7 separate regions of the Homo sapiens genome follow, and all the other regions are linked to region 3. The links are contacts of gene promoters, found by promoter capture Hi-C in human tissues and cell types (Jung and others, 2019). All regions are on one chromosome and are shown on one strand. The core of a region is centred on a gene start or on the middle of the fragment in contact, and the rest is flanking DNA. Distances in the headings are between cores, read along the strand shown.

Region 1 (3,178 bases), core at 644-3,143, 430 kb after region 3:
AAAAACTGAAGAAATTCAGAACAGTTACCAATGACAAAAATCACTGATCAGAATAAAAAGACAAGGTTACAGAATATACGTTGTTACTGATCATTTTTCAGAAGCAGAAGGAAAAGAATGCCCTCCCTGGCCATTGAGGGTGATAAAAAGTAAGCCCCACTCCTATCACAGGCAATGAAGGACAGGGATGGAAAAAAAAAGTGAAGAAGAAGGGGAAAAAGCAAAAGTTATGAAAAAAATTAGAAAAGGGGACACTGGGATTCAGTCTGGATAATGGTAGAATCACTAGGAAGGGACAGAACAAATAGAACTTACAGCACATAAGTCTCTGGTGACGTTTTAAAAACATGATAAAGCATCTTCATGATGACTCTGTCATTAGCTAAAGTTTAACTTGTGTTTAGTAGACTATTTACTAAGACAGCAGTATGTGTAATACAGAATGATGTTCATCAAAACCAGTTCGCTTTAGGAAGCTGTCACAGAGAAGTTTTACCTTGAATTACAAGGTAATTCAAGACCCACTAAACCTGTGTGTGTTATTTCCACTCCTCAGGAATTCCAGTTGGGGAGGTATCTATTTCACTGGGTCCTTGCCCCAAAAAGTTCCCCCAGGGGTTTATTCTTACAACTTGAAATGAAGGTTTTTTTAAAATATTATTTGGCGTGATTTACACTAGATATATGTGGCCATTTGTAAGAACAAAAGAAAATTATTAACTACTTTCCTGAATGCATTTTCCTACCAGCCCAGATAATTTAAATTTTAAGTATGTAATGTGGAGTTGACCCTTGAACAACATGGGTTTTAACTGCGTGGGTGCACTTACACATGGATTTTCTTCCAACTCTGCCACGTCGAAGACAGCAAAATCAACCATTCCTCTTTTTCCTCAGCCTACTCAACATGAAGACTATGAGGATGAAGACCTTTATGATGATCAACTTCCACTTAATGAATAGTAAATATATTTTTCCTTCCTAATGATTTAACAATTTCTCTAGCTTACTTTGTTGAAGAATACAGTATATAATACATATACAAAATATGTGTTAATTAACTTTATGTTATCAGTAAGGCTTTTGGTCAGCAGTAGGCTATTAGTAGTTACGTTTGCGGGGAGTCAAAAGTTGTATGCGAGTTTTTGACTGCTTGAGGGTTGGTGTGTCTAACCGCCACATTGTTTAAGGGTCAACTGAATTAGGCTTTGTGCTTAGCCAGTGCAGATATTCCTGTCTTTATGGAATAGTCTAATTCTGGAGCATATGAAATGCCATAAGACTAAATACTTCAATGGAAAAAATCAAGTAGCTACCTGGAAGGCTTCGGTGCTCTGGGACATGTTTCACATTCTTAGTCTCCCCTGTTGCTGGGAGTTATGGACTGTAATAGCTATTTCACTGTTGTAATACAGTAAGTATTTTGTTGACTTTGGTTTTATTTACATCAGTATTATTTAATTCAGTGAACACTTATTGAGTATTATTTAATTCAGTGAACACTTACTGAGTATGTATGAATATACATACTCAATAAGATGTGGAATGGCCATCTTAGAGACTGTAAATAATTACAGTGCCATAACTACAATAATAAAAACATGTATGAGATGCAGACAAGAGAGAGTGCTTGCCACCCATTTGTTTCTAGAAAATTCACCTAGGCTAAAGCATCTACTGCAAGTCCACATTGAAAATGTTAGGGCCTCATCTTGATGTTTGAAGCTGATAATTTTGGGTGTCACCAGTAGTTTTAGCCCAACTCCACTTTTATTTACTCCAGCTTGAATTTTTGAAAGTTTAAGACTTTAAGCCATGTAAAGTGAGACAATTTATCATTTTCCTGCACTAATTTTTAAAAAATCATACAACAGCTGAATGAGGTCTGCTATGTCCTTTTTGTAGATGAAGAAGCGTATTACATCACTCTGTCCAAAAGAAATTTTATTCAGATTTATTTCAGAAAGAGCTTTACTTCACCTGAGAAATTGCCTTTTCCTTATGGACAAAGCAGATTATTAATTGGTTGCCCGATATTTTTGCTGTAGTTGTGAGAAATCTCCTATTAAAATTGGGTTCAGGCTGGGTGCGGTGGCTCACACCTGTAATCCCAGCACTTTGGGAGGCCGAGGTGGGCAGATCACCTGAGGTCGGGCGTTCGAGACCAGCCTGGCCAATACGGTGAAACCCCGTCTCTACTAAAAATACAAAAAATTAGCTGGTCATAGTGGCAGGCACCTGTAATCCCAGCTACTTGGGAGACTGAGGCAGGAGAATTGCTTGAAACCAGGAGATGGAGGTGGCAGTGAGCAGAGATCCCACCCCTGCACTCCAGCCTGGGTGACAGAGCGAGACTCCATCTCAAAAAAAAAAAAAAAAAAAAATTGAGTTCAGTTTTAATAATTATGTAGCCTTGGTTGTCTGCTTATCTGCATTCTAACTTTTTAGTCTTTTTTTTAATCAGAGGAAAAGATTTAATATAAAGATTCAAGCTTCACATCATGACAAATAATAAATTGTGAAATATAATTTTTTCTTCTTCTTTTCGTATTTTTTATAAATATTGGGTTTCACAACATTGCCCAGGCTGGTCTTGAACTCCTGGGCTCAAGCCATCCTCTCGAGTTGGCCTCCTAAAGTATTGGGATTATAGGTGTGAGCCATGGAGGCTGGTGGTGGCTCTTTTTCTATTTTAATCTAATTTCTTATTCTTGATCTTTTTTGTATTTTTCCAGAGTTTGATTTTTATCTACTTGTTTTTCTTTTGTTTTTATAAATGGCCACAAATATCTAGTGTAAATCAGGCCAAATAGTATTTAAAAAAAAAATCTTCCTTATTTCAAGTTGTAAGAATAAACTCCTAGGGGAACTATTTGGGGCAAGGATCCAGTGAGATACATACCTCCCCATCTGGAATTCCTGAGGAGTGGAAATAATACATACAGTTTTAGTAGGTCTTTAGATTACATCTAGATTTAAATCGGCTGACCTACCTGGAAGAAGGGAGTTTGGATGAAAGCTACCACCTCATCATCATTTTTCTAATAAATCTTTTAGCAAGAAAATTCAGAAACTAAATGGATATTATTTTCATTATCCTCTTTTAATTCATAATCCAACAATAAAATGGTCCTGTGTTTACTTTTGGAGTCAGCAAGAATGGGAAGAGTTGGAAGGT
Region 2 (3,150 bases), core at 75-2,574, 420 kb before region 3:
TTTTCCAAGAAAGATTCTATTTCTTGGAAATAGAATAAAATAAAAACAAAAATTCTAGGTTTTTAGTTCCTTTTAAGCTTGATCTTCGTGGATAAGAATATTAGTGGTTATGATGTATGGAGAGAGAGAGATGAGAGGGACAGCAACTTTGATCAAGTCTGACTGGCTAAGACTCAGAAATACCTGCTTCTTCTCCTGCCTTTTCCTCTTCATGCTGGTGCATGTTTTCTTCAACTTGTAATTTGGTTAGGATTCCTTAGCCACTAACACATATTCAGTAGGAAAACTAGTAAACTTTAATGTTAATCTCTTTGAAGGAATTTTTTCAGTAAAGAAAAAAGATAAAGCAGTATATGGAGGAGAAAGCAGATTCAAGAAGGTATTGTTGTTGTTGTTTATGTTTTTTGTTTTGAGATGCAGTCTCATTGTCACCCAGGCTGGAGTGCAGTGGCGCAATCTCGGCTCACTGCAACCTCCGCCTTCTGGGTTCAAGCGATTCTCCCACCCCAGCTTCCTATCTTGGACTACAGGCACGTGCCACCACGCCTGGCTAATTTTTCTATTTTTAGTAGAGACAGGGTTTCACCATGTTGGCCAGGCTGGTCTTGAACTCCTGACCTCAGGTGATCCGCCTGCCTTGGTCTCCCAAAGTGCTGGAATTACAGGCATGAGCCACCGCGCCAGGCCCAAGAAAGTGTTTTGTATTGCTTTAGCTGGGGACATTATGGTATGTTTATATATTTATGGAATTTTCTTCCCATAGAGAGGAAAATATATAGATTCCAGGAAAAGAAAGGAAAAATTTGCTGAAGTGGTAACCTTGAGAAAAGGAAAGAAGCCATCTAAATCTCAATCAGAGGATTAAGCAGATACAAGCACGGACAATTCTTCCACAGTAGTAGGTGAACACTAAAGCCTGTGGATACAGTTGCTAGTGGGTCTGGTAGATGTGGTGATGGGAATATATGACACAATTTTCAGTGACATAGGAAGCAAGGTTATCACCTGAGAGTGAAGATGAGGGAGGGGGTTTTCAAGTTTTAAGGAAAGGGAGAAGGAATAAAATAATTATCTAGAAGAACAATGGAGTGAATTGACTAGGGATTTGGGGTGGGATTGCTTGGCAACTTTGACAATCCAGTTGAGGATGGCAGTCATTAATTTAAAGTGAGACCAGGCTTTGTGATGGGTTGTGTTTTAGTTTTATTTCCTCCAGCCACATTTAACTGTGTGGATGCAGGTTTTAATTCATGCAGTTAGGATTTTCTAGGTGCATGCAATGAAGATATAATAAGGCAGTGGAGATAATGATTGTGATGATAATGGTAATGATGATGAAAGACCTTGGAATCTATGTTGAGTGAAGAGAGAAATAAGGATGACAAGGGGATGAAAAACAATGAGATGGTAGTAGGATCAATTATGTTTATCACCACTGGGGATACCGTTATTGGTAATATAAAGGCTTATTGTATGTATGACAATAGGAGTTGATGACTAACGTGGGGTGGAGAAGAAAAAAATTACAAGAGAGGAAATTAAGGGCAGCATATCAGAAAGATCATCTATGTGGATATTGAAATGCCCCTGAAGTTTGAATGGAGAGCCAGTAAACAAAAGCTAAAAATGTTAAGTAATGAGAGAAAGTGGCCAAGGCTATGTGGTCAACATGGAGGAGATGAGAGTGGTATAGTCTGAAGATATAAGTAGCAAGTCTGGGAGTTGTAGGCAAGAAGTAGAAACAATGAGCTAAAGTTGTAATGAAAGCAAGAAAGACACCTACTGTAGCCCTAGGTTCAGTGGCACTGGGGAGTGGGAGAAAACAGTCACTACATTTAGAATCTTGCTTGAGTTTCTGGAGGAATTTCTATATTCACATTGCTAGTATAGTCTTCTACATGCATCTTTATGATTTTTTCTCTTTCTAAAGCTTAACATGTTTTTCCTCTTTCCATAATTATGCTATGCCTACAATGGCATCATCTCCTAGATATCTGTCAGGCTATGAGAGCTGGGGATGGGAAATCAGAGACCTAAGTGAACCAACCAGTTCACATGGTCAACATTTTATTTTTGGCTCATGTTTTCTTAAATTGCTTTAACTTTTACCAGCCTTGGCATTAAGGGGTTGCTTGAATGTGGGGAGGGAACTTGAATACCACATACAAATGTTATCTATCAATCCCCCAATGACCCCAAGTAAAATGAAATAATATTTTCCAATATAGACCCTTGACATTTCTCTATGTTAATAAGGTGTGAAGGAAAGCATCCGGAAGTAGAAAGCTGTTACTTTAATTAATTTGTAACATACATTCTACATAAAAAATGTGCTTGCCATACAAATGCCATTTCCCTCCACCACACACTCGTTTTCCACCCCAAACCCCGCTGTGAAAAAATTCTGTAGTCACTATTGACTGCCTGCATGCTTTCACTAGTATGTGGCATGGTTGTAAACATAGCTTCCATTCGTGGATATAACAATTCAATTTGTGACTATGTAATTGATCTGCCTTGAATTTCATCAAAGTACATTTGGTACAAAAAGTACTGGAAAACTTTGTATTTGTGTACTTGTGCGATTTGAACCCTAAAATGAGTTACAGTGAGGCTTCAGAACATTATGTGTTTTTAAAAATACTGCAAATTAAGTCTTTTTGATACTTTTCCCCCTAAAACCATGAACAACAAGCTCACATTAAATGGAAATTAACATAGGATTCTAAGAATTAACGTAGTCGACAGAACCAGAATCTACTAAAAGTATGTCTCTTTCCAACACTCACTGAAATGCACGTTAATTCATAGGAAGACTCAGGTTAGTCCAAACCAAGCGAAAATACACTGTCCTAACCTATTTGACTTGGCTTTGGAAATGGGAAATTTTAGGAAAACTGGTGGCCACCCTGCTCCTGTTTAATTGTGTGTGTGTGTGTCAAGTGTGGTAGAAATGTGGAAACGTGGAGGGAGATGAGATACAGAAACAAAACAGAGGAAGAAGGGGGGAGGGGCAACTCACTACAGGATCCACTCCTCGCAGTGCACTAGAGTGGCAGACTTCCTGAGCTCTAGGCATGAGATTCGCTCCAGCCTGTGTTTGGAAATGACAGCTCAGATACAGACAACGTAGGATTCTGTGGTAAATGA
Region 3 (3,033 bases), core at 82-2,581:
TTTTTGCTGAGTATTCCTTTGCTTTATTCCCAACGAAAATCGAAAAGACTTGATGTTCTGAGAAATTCTGAGACTGGCAGTTTTGATTTTTCTTAAAAGGATAAAAATTGCATCAGTCAACACCTCCCTCCACACTCCCCCCACACACATCCTCATCTTCCTGGAAGATGATACAGTATCCTAGAGCGTTGTGGAGAGGATGGAGAGGTCAAGGAAGCCCTGGCTTTGCAGAGGCACCTGTCAAGTTCGGGTTAACAGCTGCCGCCTGTGTCTGCCCTCTGCAGTCCAGGGAAATAGTACCCACACGGTGAGACTCCACCGATCCGGAACTGGAGAGGGTGGGGGGTTCTAAGGTTTAGTGTGACACAAATGTCAGGGCAGAACTTTCAAACAGGCTGAGCCCCAGTTCAACGTGGGTGAGTGCGCCTGAGAGCCCAGCTCTGGGAATTGAGCAGACTGAAAATGTGGAGAGTAGTTTGGCCAGTGAAAAATTGTCACCGTGTTCGGATCAATGCTTTGAACCCGCTTTTAAGTGCGCCACGTTCACTTGGGTCAGGCTCTGGACATTGCGGTGGGCTGAGGTTTTCGCGGGCACGATCCCCCACACTGAGTTTTCATGGAGACGACCAGGGCCGTCGAGGCGGGGAAGGGAACGGACTAGAGGCTGAACTTTGGCTTCTTGCTCTGAAAGATCACTCCTCCGGTTCCGGGGCAGAGACTCAGACCAGCCTGTGGGATTACACGAGACAGGATCGAGTCCAAACGGGTCCCCAGCTCGGCAAGGCGCGCCGGAAGGAATCTAAGTGTTTAATTAACTGCCCCCTTCACACACCCCCCGAAGGAGAAGGAACTCAAATAGGCACCCCTACCCAAATCGTTTGATCAGAGGAAATTGGGTTTGTCTCTCCCCCACCCCCCACCCCGTCCCTTCACTCTTCCTGTGTTTCAGTCCATCGGGATTGTTGGTTAAAAAAAAAAAAAAAAAAAGGCTTATAATCGGGGGCGGGGCAGAGGCTCCGAGCGAGCCGCACTTGCGACTCTGGACCGCGGTTGGTGAACTTTTTTCTCCCTGCGCATAATCCGCCTGCTGCTCTGCCCCACTGGCTGCGCGTGGAGCCGGTCCCAGGCCTGCTCGCAGCCCTGCCCCCGGGCGCGGCCCGAGCCGGGCCCGACCTCGCTTTCAGGGCCGAGCCGGGGTACGCGTGGGCGCGCGCCCAGCGGCCTCGATCCCGCGGCGGCGTCCGCGCTCCGCGTTTTCGCTCGCGCCGGGCCCCGCGGCCGAGGGCGGGGTGCGCGGCGGCGCCGCAGCGCGCGGCTCCGGAGCCCGAGCGCACTCCGCCTGCAGCCCAGCTGCCAGCGCCGTCTCCCGCGGCCGCCGCCGCCCGACAGCGCGCCCGGAACATGCCAGCCTCGCGCAGCCTGCGCTGACTTCCCCGAGACGCGCCGCGGTCGGCACGGAGACTTTCTGGGCTCTGGATGGTTCGTGCGCTGCTCACCCTCGCCCACCCCTGACGCCGCGGACCGCAGCTCCTCAGCCCCGCAGCCCCGCAGCCCAGCAGCCCCGCAGCGGCGCCGAGGACAGTGCAGCCGAGTTGCGTCTCCCTCGCGCGAGGTGAGTGGCAGCCTGGATCCCGGCGGATTCCGCAGAGGGGGCTGCGGCGCGGTGGTGGGGGGCGAGCGCCGCAGGGGTAGGGCCGGGCACCTTCGCTGGCACCGCCGGAGTCTGTGACACCCAGACTGGGTCGGTGTCGCAGAAGATCAGGGAGAAGGTCATAATCGGTTTGTTGGGCTGTGTAGACAGGGAAAGCAGATATTGGCTGCAGCATCGCCAGGGCTCCGCAGAGGCTCTCCGCATGGCTCCTGTTTGCTGCATCACAACCAACTCTTCCCTTGGTTTTCTCCGGCGTGGAAACAGGTTCTGTAGCCCGAGGGTCGAGGCGATGCGGGGCGCCGGGAGGCGAGGGTGCGTTGGCGTGTTCCCGCCGCTTAGGATCGCCTGTCACCTACTGGCGTCCGGAGGGAGGGTACCGATTCTCTCCTCTAGCGCTGGGGAAAGGGGCTGGTGGCTTTTTGGCAGAGGCGAATCAACTCCCACCACTCTCCCCAACCCCCTGCCCCGCGATGGTGTTTGCTGAATGTAGCACAGATATAGGGAAAAAATGGGAGCGTCTTCCTCTCTTGAGGTAGAAAAAGTTGAAGAAACTAGGCATGTTAATAGTTATTAGGAGCGGGACTCAGGATGCAGCAGAAAGCTGTTAAATTTTCATTACCCTCTAAGAAAAACAAACGGCATCGCCAGTGACTATTGGCAGTGCTGTGTTATTCTTGGGACTTTGGGAAAATTGTTCACAGATTGTCTTCAGGAGGCTGAAGAACGAGGTTGGGGGTTGGGAGAGAGGGAGGACGGCTGCATCACGCTTAGTTCCAGCTTGCCTAAGGAGGGTTCAGGATCACAAGCCGAACGCGTTTGGTTGCTGATTTTTAAAAGGGTATCAGCGGCAGAACTGAGACCATGAACAAGGCAAACACACCACGGGAACCAGCCTAAAGGAAAAAAAAAAAGCACCAACAACTACAACCAAAAAAACATGTAAAAATCTGCCTCTCCTGCAGAGTTAACATGCATTTGTGCTATCAAATGGATGCATGTATATGTGTCTTTTAGGATAAGTTTTATGAATGACAAATCACTGAAATGGTATCTTGTATCTGTTCATGCATACAGTGTTGTCTACTGCCTCGTCTTAATCAGTACTTTGGAAGGCTGTGCCTGCAGTTGATGTTATATAATTGATGTGGTTCACCATCAGACATTTTTTAATGTACTTTAGGAGTAGAGGGAACTTCCATCTGTCTTTTCAGACAGGCCCAAGGTGTAGACTGGTGAGGGTTGCTAATGTTTGCCGTAGTCCGGCTCCAGATGTGTGAGCTCAGCTGTTGCCTGTCACTTAGGTGACAACTGGCCCTTTCCCACTAAGCCTTTGCTGTCTCCATTATCCTCAGTGAAGTGTCAGTGTTCAGCCGCCTTCTATT
Region 4 (2,934 bases), core at 60-2,559, 400 kb before region 3:
AAGTCCCTCAAACTCTCTGAGCCTCAGTTTCTTCACTTTAAAAATGAAGGCAATAATGCGTAGATTAGAAAGATTTCACCAGGATTAAAGGAGATTAGGCACAGATAGTATGTAACCCACTGCCTGGCACATGTGAATTTTCTCTCTGCTAAGTGATTATAAATCCAATAAAGGATTTGGATAAATACACAAATAACCTCAGTAGAAGGCAATAGGAGGGAAATGCAATAATAGCATTACAGTCAAACCATATAGACTTCAAAAGGAGATAGCAGTCCTTGCCATAATCAGAGAAAACTTCAGGAAATAACATCTGAGCTAAGCCACATAGAATGGTTAAGGTCTGGGTAGGTGAAGTTGAGGGAGGACTTTAGAAACAGAGAAGATGCAAGATTCAAGTCTCAGAGGTAGGAAACAGCAGGACAGAGCACTGCCTGAGGGACAGTACTCATCCTGTTGGCATGACAAGACTCAGTGTCATGGTAACAGCTTCAGATCTTCTCACAACCTATAGGTAAAAAGAACTGTAAGACTCAAGCCCAAATTGCCTTTTTCTTTGGAGATGGAGTCTCACTTTGTCACCCAGGCTGGAGTGCAGTGGTGCAATCTCAGTTCACTGCAAACTTCACCTCCCAGGTTCAAGTGATTCTCCTGCCTCAGCCTCCCCAGTAGCTGGGATTACAGGTGCCCACCAGCATGCCTGGCAATTTTTTTGTATTTTTAGTAGAGACGGGGTTTCACCATGTCGGCCAGGCTGGTTTCGAACTCCTGACCTCAAGTGATCCATTGGCCTCGGGCTCCCAAAGTACTGGGATTACAGGCATAAGCCACCGTGCCCGGCCTAGTCATATTATTGATGAGCCAATGATCACAGAATGCTCTTTTCCCTGACTGGCTCAGGCTTAGGAACGTGTTTCTGAAAGCAGAACTATTCAGTTATCCCTGCATCCACCCCTTCTTATATCGCTGTGTCTTGTGCCCTTTTCTCGAGACCTAAATGCCTGTGTCACATCTCAAACCTCTGCTAACAACCAGAAGGTAGGGTCAGTCTTGCTCTCCTACTGACCTTCCTACTATGAGCAATAAAGCTTTTGCTTTTCTCACCTGTTTTCTGGTGGTCTTCTTCTAGAATGTTTGACACCTTTGAGAGAAAAATAATAATCCTATAATATTTTTTCTTTGCTGAAAGCCTTTCCAGGTCCCTAGATGAAGAGGAGACTTTTTGTCCTGGGCCATTTCCCACTAGAGCCACTGACTGCTCCTTCTGAACGTTTCACTACACTTTTTCAGGTAAGGTTCTCAGAGAAAGGCCCTATGCTGGGTTCACACTACAAATTCAAGCACGTCAAGGGGCCCAGGGGTGTTGGCTCTATTTTCAGGGAGGTTGCAGAACCCTCATGGGAAGGAACTGGAGGTTATTACCGGGATGATTTATTTTTTTTTTTTCTATCACTAAGAGAAACAGGAAGAGATGGTTAAGAAAGGGTAGGTTCAAGAGAAACAGAATGAAACCTTTAAATGGCTACAGAGTAAAAGAGACCTTCCCAGCAAGAATGGCCTAGTAAATGGGGGCAAAATTCATGCCATATTCTAGACTCACCATTCAGTCATGGAGAATGTAAAATAAATGTAGATAAATTATTAAAATTGGTGAAGTTGTAAATATCATGTGAAATGGTCTACTCTGGGTCCCCATTTAAATTGCTTTGTAAAAAAATAAAAGCCTCTTGCTTGGCACACTTTCACAGTGAAAGGTTATTATTATCTTTTTAATAAGAAGGAGGACCATTTTATACATATACATGTATTCTTGTAGAAGAAATTAACTTAAACTGTAGAAAGATGAGTTTATTAAAATGCATTGGAATTCTCATGCTATTACATTTTTTAATAACCATCTTGCTTTACGCCGTATACCCCTGTTGGTGTACAGACACATCTGGGCCTCACCCAGGTCAATAGTGATGCTTCAGTGCCTCCTTGGGAATTAGCTCTATATTCCAACACAATTCATTTTTAGTGTAAAATTTGTTTGAGCCATGTGAGTAAAAATATATTTAAATTTTTACATATAAAAGCCAAACTTTGAGCACATTTCTGAATTGCAAATATATGAAATAAGGTCAAAAAGAGAAAAAGGACCCAAATACTTGTGAAAAAATGAATGATTGATGGTCCAAACTGCAGTGCTCTAAAACATAATTGTCTTCCTGTGCCCCAAGGGCAGAACCTTCATCTTGTACATGCCAACCAGTGTATAGTATGAAATAATTTTTCTGAAGACCAAGGATCAATTTGTTTAAAATAATAGAGTAATAAACAATTTAATAAACATAAAATTATTTCTATTGTTTGATGACTTTTTTGTCAGAATTTAAAAAGTATAAAAATGCTTTTGTCAAAGTATAAAATAATATCATATAAATATATGTATATATATATGTTTCTTTTATACATGTTTCTTTTGAGGATGTTTTCAGTCAACTACTATCTAAAGGTAATATCTACTTTTATCAACTACAATCTGAATATATGTATAGATATATATATGTTTCTTTTATATATGTTTCTTTCGAGGATGTTTTCAGTCAACTACTATCTGAAGTTAAAATAAGTTAGAGGAGTTATTGTACATATTTATCTTGTATGCCATATTTTAATCAAATCTTATTATTTACTTCCAATTTAAAAAAAAAAATTCCCTCTCTCTCCATGGATTCTAGAGATACTGTGGGGAGAAAAACTGTAAATAGATACAAAATGTCCATAGTATTTATTTTCATTTACAAGATTTTGTTCTTTTTATAGCAAATCAGATATTGAATTTTTGACAACTCCTAAATCTGTCTATATCAAAGAAGGTAAAGGACATCAGAATTTATATTGATTATTGTCGGAACAAGCTTTTTAGTAATGAAATACGGTATGTTATTT
Region 5 (2,937 bases), core at 364-2,863, 460 kb after region 3:
ATAGTCCATTGTATGGATATACCACATTTTGCTCATTATTTGGTGGACATTTGAGTTCTTTCATACTTTTTGGCTATTATGAATAATGCTGCTCTGAGCATTCATGGACAGTTTTTCTGTGAACATGTTTTCAGTTCTCTTGAGTATATACTGAGGAATTTAATTGGTGAGTCATGGTTGCACAACTCTGAATATACGAAAAACCATTGAATTACACACTTTAAAAGGGAATTATGCTTGTATTATTCTGCTTTGCTTTGTAACAACCCCATACATCTAAACAGTTTACAATAGCAAGCATTTATTTCTTGCACACATTACATGTCTATGGCTATGACTTTGCTTGATATATCTTCTCATCCTGGGATCCAAGCTAAAGGAGCAATCCATACATTGGATATGCCTGGTCTTGTGGTAGTGGATGAGCAAGAAGCCAGATTGAACAACACAGTCCCATTTGAAGCTTCTACTTTGATGCCACAGTATCATGTCTTTTTATATTATTTTGGCCAAAGCAAGTCACTTGAATAAGGTCAAAGTCAATAAATGATGCAGGGATATATGCCTCCCTTATCAGGCAGGCAAGGCCCATGGTAATGAATAGGGTTGTATAATCCTTTTACAGTTAAATGTGGGGAGTGAATAACTGAACAGTAATACAGTCTACTACACAAATAGAGATTGCCAGTTAAGGAGAAAGAAAGACTAATTGATGCAAGAAGGTCTTTAAGGACTCCTGAGAAGAAGATGGGCAACAAGGGGAAGCATATGGAGTTGGTAATAGGTATGAGACTAGCTAAGGGGAAGACAATTAATTTATATTTCTACTAATCAGCATAGTCATGTCATTAACTGTTCTTCAGTATTCATCTGAGAATGTGAATGAACAGCTCAGTTTCAACTGAAGATTGTGCTGAAAAGGTACGGTGAAAGAAGAAGGTGGAAGTTTGCAGGTATAGGAACATGAATGGATGAACCATATGATGTAGTCTGAGTAGGGAGGGAAATGGGTAAAGCAGGGAGCTTATACTTAGGAAGCATGTGATTGGAGGGCTGAGTGATTTCCACACATGTAATGGGATATAAATAATAAGCCTGGGCAACAAAGCAAAACTTTGTCTCTACAAAAAATTTTTTAAAAATTAGGCTTGGTGGCACATGCTTATAGTCCTAGATACTTGGGGACTGAGGCAGGACGATAGCTTGAGCCCAGGAGATTGAGGCTGTAGTGAGCTGTGTTTGTACCACTGCACTCCACCCTGAGCGACAGAGCAAGACCCTGTCTCAGAAAAAAGAACCATAATTATTAGATCAGAGACTAGTCTGAGATGAGGTATTGGATTGCAGTTTCTGACAGGGTCCAGGATTTGTCATTTTTTTACTTTTTCTTCTCTCTCTCTTTTTTTTTCTTTTGTCAGAGAGGGTCTCACTCTGTTGCCCAGACCTGGTGTGCATTGGCATGATCACAATTCACTGTAGCCTCAAACTCCTGGGCTCAAACTATCCTCCTAACTCAGCCTCCCGAGTAACTGGGACTACAGGCACACACCACCATGCCTGGCTAATTTTTTTTTTATTCTTTGTAGAGATGGGGTTTTGCCATGTTGCCCAGGCTGGTGTTGAACTCCTGGGCTCAAGCGATCCACCCACGTCGGCCTCCTAAAGTGCTGGGATTACAGGTGTGAGCCACTGTGCCCGGCCAGCATTTGCCATTTTTCACTGAAGGGAAAAGGAGGTAAGAGTTACTGGATTTAAAGAATTGTGTAACCTGGGTGTTGGTTAGGTCTCTCACCTTGCAGTATCTGAAATGACATTCTGTTACTCCCCACTAGACAGTATGATCCATGTCCATTTTACTCACTATAGTGTTGCCAGTGTTTGGCCTGTGTAGGTAGTCATTCAGTAGAAAATTTATTGATTTACCAAATGAATGGTTAGAGGAAAGTAGGATTTGGTACTGAGACGAGGACTGTGAACCGGATGCTAGTTTTCTGTGAGTTGGGGAGGAACCAGTAGGTTGGTAGATCAGAATGGTGTGGCATTGTGGCTCTTTTACATGGCTAGCAGTTGATGCTGGCTTTTGACTAGGAGCTCAGTGGAGGCTGTTGATCTGCATTCTCTCAAGTGGCTTCTGCATGTGCCTTGGGCTTCTTACAACGTGAAGATCAGGTTCAAAGAGTGTTCCAAGAAATAGGATGTGGAGCTCTTAAGGGAAGGGCCTGGACATTGGTACAGTATTATATTCAGTATTCTATTTGTCAAAGCAATCACAGAGCCCACTTAGATTCTGGATAAGGGGAGTTAGATCCTACTTGGTTGGTTGGTTGGTTGGTTTTTTGAGACAGAGTCTTTCTCTGTCACCCATGCTGGAGTGCAATGGAATGATCTTGGCTCACTGAAACCTCCGCCTCCTGGGTTCAAGCGATTCTCCTGCCTCAGCCTCCTGAGTAGCTGGGATTACAGGCAACCGCCACCACACCTGACTGATTTTTTTTATTAGAGATGGGGCTTCACCATGTTGGCCAGGCCATTCTCAAACTCCTGACCTCAAGTGATCCGCCTACCTTGGCCTCCCAAAGTGCTGGGATTAGAGGCATGAACCACTGCGTGCAGCAGATCCTACTTATTAATAGAAGTGTCAGATGTGTGATCATCCTTAATCCACCATACTTGGCACCTAGTTTGGTACTAGCAGAAGTGTAGGGCTCTTGGTGTGGCTCAAAGCTTCACAAAATTTAAACTCGTTACTGAGTTGTTCAATATGTTGGTCTTGTTGAATTTAATTCTCATGTCTGTGGCTTCGTCATCTTGCATCAACTTAAAAAAAAAAACAAAACAAAAACATTGCCCCCAAATACAGTTTAATTGTAATACTGCAAGAGGGTCTTTTGAGTTAGAAGCTCCCTGGTGGATATTTCCTGAGAACAGGGAGTTTGA
Region 6 (2,904 bases), core at 169-2,668, 460 kb before region 3:
TCCCAGCACTTTTTTTACTACTACCATTATTTAAATATTTAATTTATAGGCATACATTTAATAGCTGTACAAAAAAATTAAACACTTTGGGAAAAATGAGTTCTGTAAATCAGTTGGTAAGATTGCCTCTTTGAAAAAAATGTAAAGATAAAAGGAGCCCAAGTCACAGTCCACATTATTTCTGCTCATTACACATTCCTAAAAAAAGAATGAGAGAGAATGCTGTTGTAATCTACATTATCTTGATTTCGCTAGTTCATTTTACAGGATTATTTTCTTGGTTATCATTCTAATAAGTGATGTATGCCATCAGCAAGGGACAATTTTAAAAGAAAAGTAGAAACAGTATAAAAACTAGAATACAATTTTTATGATTATTCATTGCATGTTATTTTCTAAGCATTGCTATTCTAAATAACAAAGCTATTGGGAAGAATTCCACAGCTTAAAATTTGATTTTAGAGCTCAATATTTTTCTTTAAAAAAAGTATAATGGTGTGCAGAATCAAGTAATAAGAGAACTATGCTGATGGTTTTAGTATTCAGCCCTTCTGATTACATTTGCATATACCCAGGCATTTTTAGAAAAAACGTAAAAGAAAAATACAGTCCTGGTATTACCAGAACAAAATGTAATGCCATTGTCCCAAATAAGCTGTCTGTTCCTAGAACAGTTTTCTTGGTGATAGTAGACATTTACATGCAAAATTGCAAATTGAGCAGGGATTCTAAACAGTAGAAATAATTTAATCACATTTAATGACAATATTTTGAAAAGTTAATTTTTCCCTCTTAATATATAAAGAGCTCTGGATAAGCAATAATGAATAATAAGCATAGAGATTAAAAAACTGAACAGATTTAGAAAAAGCAACACAAAAAATTTAAAATGGCTGATAAATATGTCACAAGCTTTTCAATCTCTCCAGTGATCTCATGGACAGTAAGAGAACATGAGACATCTGCACAGCCTAACCCTTCCAATTACTTAGTGACAAAGAAAGAGAAAATCGTTGACATGACACAGATGAATAAATTCTGCAGCACAAATTCAGGGGAGCAAATAGATTTACATAGGAATAAAGAAACTGAAAGTAGATTGCCTGTTCTATTTCTCACTGAAAAATAAGAGGACACCCCATCTAAGACAGAAGCAGCATTCTGTTCAAAATCTATTAGTAAGTGAACACATTTACGACACACTTTAGCATGGAGTACAGCCCATCCACTTCATCCTCACCTCACCAGCTTCATTTCCCACTGTTCTCCCCATCCTAACACAGCAGCACACTCCACGTTTTAGCAATTTTTAACCATTTGGAGTTCACTAAATACATCATACTGCTTTATTCTTTATGTCTGGGAAATGCTTTACTCTTTGCATTATCTTAGTTGTTCAATTACTTGTATCCATTTATTCAATCATTCAACAAGTTATTTTCATAGAGTACCAGCTGGGTGACTGGTGTGCTGGGCACCGAACTTGTAAAGATAAATAGGACATCGTTCCTCTTTTCTAGAAGCTTGCATTCTAACCCAGGAAGGAACATAAGAAAACCAGTTCATTTGATTTGGTAATGGAACGAAGTATAGAGTGCTAGAGCAGAGCGTGCCTGGAGGAAGTGATGCTCACGCTGACGACGATACAACTGTAGACGTCAGCCTGGCAAGAGGTGAGTGACAGAATGTTCCAGAAGAATCAATCCGTGCATACAGAGGGCCAAAAGTGATTCTGCTATATTATGGCAGAAGACTCTATAGAGTTTGTCAATGAACTGTGTTTGTAGAGCAAGGGGAAAGGAGATGTATGGAAATCCTCTTGGACTTCTTGAGATAATTTAGAAATGACCATCTATGGATGGTATTTGATGTCACAGGAGTGGATGAAATTATTGCCAAACATTTTATTAGACTGACTCTTGCCTACCCTTCCAGTTTCAGTTCATATGTCACTTCCTACAGAGAAAGGGCCCAGGACCATGCCCTTAGGAGCTACACCCCTTCAAGGTTCTATAGAGAGAAAGGAACTGACAAAGGAAACTAAAATGTAATGGGCAGAGGGATAGGAGGAGCCTCAGAAGGGACTGATGCTCTGGAATTTGAGAATGATGAGAATGATGATAATGATGAAGTTTAACCTTAAACTTTATCTGAATTGAATTCTAAAGTTTTTTTATTCTCAAAATTCAATTGCCATAGTTTTAAGAATCAAAAATATACTGAAATCGTTTAAAACTAATGTCTGCTTTGCAAATTATCAAAGGTAAAATTCAATAAAACAAATTCCATATATTAAAGGCTAAATAAAAAATTGAAGAAACATAAAAATTGAAAGATAAAAAGTTAAAGGATTAGCAAATAAATATAAGAAGATGTATAAACTATATATTAATATAAAAAAGCAAGAATGGCTAGAGAAATACTGGGCAAGATAGAATTTACAGGGGAAAATATTAAATGGAATAAATAAGATCATTTTATAGTGGCAAAATGCACAAAAAAGAGTTTCAAAGGCAATACAAAATTAATGAAATGGAATTGCTTAACATTTGACTCAATCTCAGTCAGCTTATGATAGAACAAGAGGTGACATAAATGACTTAATAAAGATACAGAAAATCTTTAAAACTTATGTACTCCAACATTAATATAAAATATGTATCAAACATTATAAATTGAAAAAAGAAAGTATACTATCTTCCTCAGTATTGCTTTAACATTTACAATCAAGCTTATATTTTGAGCAATCAAAAAATAATTCCAAAAAGGGAGAAATTTGTACTCTATATTTTCTTTTTTTTCCTTCCTTCCAACTTTTATGTTAGGTTCATGTGGTACAGGTGCAAGTTGTTACATGAGTAAATTGCATGTCGCATGGGTTAGGTGTACAGGTTATTTTGTCAC
Region 7 (2,915 bases), core at 22-2,521, 490 kb before region 3:
TAACATCTGTGTGTACATGTTTTTGTGGGCATAAGTTTTCAACTCATTTCAAGGAGCATGATTGCTGAATTGTATGGTGTGTTTAGTTTAATAAGAAAGTGTCAAATTGTCTTCCAAAGTTTCTGTGCTATTTTTCATTCCTGCCAGCAGTGAATAAGAGTTCTTATTGTTTCACATCCTTGCCAGCATTTGATGTTGTCAGTATTTTGGGTTTTCTTCATTCTGATAGGTGTCTAGAGGTGTCTCATTGATTTAATTTGCAGTTCCTTAATAATGTATGATGTTGAGCATCTTTTCATATGCTTATTTGCCATCTATGTATTTTCTTTGGTGAGGTGCCTGTTCTTTTGCCCATTTTTAAATCAGGTTATTTATTTACATAGTGTTGGGTTTTAAGTGTTCCTTTTATATTTGGGATAAAAGTCCTTTTTTGTATCGGTCTTTTGCAAATATTTTCTAAGTCTGTAGTTGTTTTCTCATTCTCTTAACAGTGGTTTCCAAAAACTCAACTGTTTTATTTTGAAGTCCAGCATATCAATTATTTCTTTCATGGGTTGTGCCTTTGTATTATATATTCTCAAAGCCTTTTTAGGTCTTTTTTTTATTGATTTGGTTCTAGAAGTAGTAAAGTTTTCTTACCTTGAAAGGCTCCATATTTCAGAGCTAGCATTATCTTTCTCTCTCTCTCTTGCTCTCTCTCTCTCTCGTCATTCATTGCTTAAGAAATGGTTCTCTGTAGTCTGCCTTCATTTCATTCTTCTCATGTCATATTAAACTCAGTAACAATGAACAGATAATACTACTAATCCTATTTCAAGTTTTTTAAAATTACACCATACCACTTAAGTCACCAATTTCTATTTTAGAATAGTAGGCACTGTTATAAATAAATCCTCAAATCTCAGTGGCTTAATGGAAATTTATTTTTGATTCACATACTAGTCAATTATGAGGATTCCTGGTTGGTGTTTAGTCACATGAGAATTATAGATCCCAGTCTACTTTCATTGTGTGGTTCCACTTTCTCAAACAGATGGGGAAAGTCATAAGAGTTTGTTTAAAAGTCCCTTGGCCCAGAAGTGACTGGTCATTTCTCATTATATTACATTGTTATAAATTATTCTTGTTTTCTCTTCTGGATCCAAGAGAGCTTTGTCTTGGAAATACAGTCCTTGGTTGGGAAGTCTTTCTACATTATGACAGACAGAATATGAATATTTTGTAGGAAACATACATTATTTGTAGAAAAAAACATAAGAATGGAGGATTTCAGCCAGGAGTAATGTGATGAGAGAAAGAATTGAAAGGGCCAAAGAAGAATCCCTAGATCATACCAACATTTAAGGGACTGGCTGAGAATGAGAACCATGGGAAGAAGACTTAGAAGGAATTGATCAGCCAGAGGGCAAAATCTAGGATGCCAGGGGAAGAAACAGTTTCAATTAAGAAAAAAAAAAAAAAAAACCGAGAGCTAAATGCAGATATGTATGTTAATAAAGGGGTTCAAAATACTTTATTGTATTTGGAATTGATAACATATAAAGTGAAATGAGGGATGTGATAGCCAGTTTGCAGAGGGTAGTAGAGTGGACAGGATTTAAATACGGATGTGGAAAAAGGAACTAAAGACTCTTTCTGCCATAGTTTAAATGTATTCCCCAAAGTTCATGTATTGGGAACTTAATTCCCAATGTGTTGAGAGGTGGGACTTTTAGGAGGTAATTAGGTCATGAGGGTTCTGCCCTCGTGAATGAATTAATGTCATTATCATGGGAGTAGATTTGCTATAAAATTGAGTTTGCCCGCAATACTTTGTCATGCTCTCAAGACCTTTCTGCCTTCCACGAGGGATGATGCAGCAAGAAGACCCTGACCACATGCCAGCCCCTTCTTGGACTTCCCAGCCTCTAGGACTGTAAGAAATAAATCTCTATTCCTTATAAATTACCCAGCCTGTGGTATCCTCTTATAGTAGCACAAAGTAGACTAAGACACTTTCTCGTAAGAACTTTGCATCAGCAGAGGAGAAACGATATAAAGAAATACCTAGAAGGAGACACAGATTTAATGTAAGGGATTTACTATTGCTTTTGTTGCAAAAACAAATTTTTTTAAAAAAAAGAAGACTAAGTTTTTGTTGCAAAATATCATTTTGTTTTGGAATTTGAAGAGACTTAACCATGTGGATACACTGAAAAGGGCACATATTTCCTGCCAATATAAAACTACGAGGAAGATAACTTTCCTCCTCAGAACTCCTATAGTGTTTAACTGAACCATTAGTGCGTCGTAAATACCCATATTCTTGACAGGTTTCCACTACTAGACATAAGATCACTGAGGCAGAATCTAGGTCTAATTTATAGTTGCATCTGCAGAGCATCTTAGGAACATTGACGTGTTTACCTTCTGTATATAGAATAGTAACCAAAAATGTTTTTTGTATAAATGTAAGAAATCTTTCACTGTCAAGATTGTGTATTTGCTCAAGTGAATATTGTTTCTTGAAAAGATGGGTGATGATTTTTAAGCCTACCAACCTTTCTGCTCCATAATTTTCTCCCCTTCTTTTTACATTCTCACTCATTTTTTTCTGTTGTACTGCTAGACAATAGAGGCAGCCATCATAATTATAATAAATGTAACACGATCTACTTCATAAGGAAACATTATTTGTGATTAATATAATAAGATTAAAGACTCAGAAACAACCCTGTGGAGCTATCCAACCTCCTTTGCTGTGACAGTTACATAATATATCAATCATATCTGTAATACATTGGTCTCTTTGGTGGGTGAAATCTCTATTCGCCTTTGTTAAATTGTTAATGGCTTCGAAGTTTAGCTACCTGGTTTTCCTTAATTTTTTTTTTTTTTGCAGTTTGTTTAGAACTTTTTATTTTCCTAAATTGACA

The links. The method cuts DNA at HindIII sites, captures the fragments that hold promoters and counts their contacts. A contact is called where the count stands out against the background at its distance.
Region 1: a fragment that was not itself captured here is called in contact with the fragment with the promoter of PRICKLE1 in region 3 in 1 of the 25 tissues and cell types used here (H1 embryonic stem cells).
Region 2: a contact is called between a fragment that was not itself captured here and the fragment with the promoter of PRICKLE1 in region 3, in 2 of the 25 tissues and cell types used here (heart left ventricle and stomach).
Region 4: a contact is called between a fragment that was not itself captured here and the fragment with the promoter of PRICKLE1 in region 3, in 1 of the 25 tissues and cell types used here (mesendoderm cells).
Region 5: a fragment that was not itself captured here is called in contact with the fragment with the promoter of PRICKLE1 in region 3 in 1 of the 25 tissues and cell types used here (bladder).
Region 6: a fragment that was not itself captured here is called in contact with the fragment with the promoter of PRICKLE1 in region 3 in 2 of the 25 tissues and cell types used here (mesenchymal stem cells and thymus).
Region 7: a contact is called between a fragment that was not itself captured here and the fragment with the promoter of PRICKLE1 in region 3, in 2 of the 25 tissues and cell types used here (H1 embryonic stem cells and mesenchymal stem cells).

What each region holds. Positions count from the first base shown.
Region 1 is chr12:42,153,632-42,156,809 of GRCh38, reverse strand. No RefSeq gene overlaps it. Among named protein-coding and RNA genes, the nearest start is that of GXYLT1, 10 kb to the right of the region's middle. The HindIII fragment of the contact is 3,053 bases long and covers 367-3,178 here.
Region 2 is chr12:43,004,993-43,008,142 of GRCh38, reverse strand. No RefSeq gene overlaps it. Among named protein-coding and RNA genes, the nearest start is that of LINC02461, 150 kb to the left of the region's middle. The HindIII fragment of the contact is 5,264 bases long and covers 1-3,150 here.
Region 3 is chr12:42,588,044-42,591,076 of GRCh38, reverse strand. PRICKLE1 (prickle planar cell polarity protein 1) reads left to right here and starts at 1,331. Exons shown (of 8, transcript NM_153026.3): 1 at 1,331-1,612. RefSeq lists an enhancer at 51-608 and a silencer at 1,078-1,327. The HindIII fragment of the contact is 9,160 bases long and covers 1-3,033 here.
Region 4 is chr12:42,988,103-42,991,036 of GRCh38, reverse strand. No RefSeq gene overlaps it. Among named protein-coding and RNA genes, the nearest start is that of LINC02461, 170 kb to the left of the region's middle. The HindIII fragment of the contact is 3,885 bases long and covers 1-2,934 here.
Region 5 is chr12:42,132,679-42,135,615 of GRCh38, reverse strand. All of the region lies in intron 1 of GXYLT1 (glucoside xylosyltransferase 1), which reads left to right. Among named protein-coding and RNA genes, the nearest start is that of GXYLT1, 11 kb to the left of the region's middle. The HindIII fragment of the contact is 5,711 bases long and covers 1-2,937 here.
Region 6 is chr12:43,046,359-43,049,262 of GRCh38, reverse strand. No RefSeq gene overlaps it. Among named protein-coding and RNA genes, the nearest start is that of LINC02461, 110 kb to the left of the region's middle. The HindIII fragment of the contact is 4,998 bases long and covers 1-2,904 here.
Region 7 is chr12:43,080,958-43,083,872 of GRCh38, reverse strand. No RefSeq gene overlaps it. Among named protein-coding and RNA genes, the nearest start is that of LINC02461, 73 kb to the left of the region's middle. The HindIII fragment of the contact is 4,842 bases long and covers 1-2,915 here.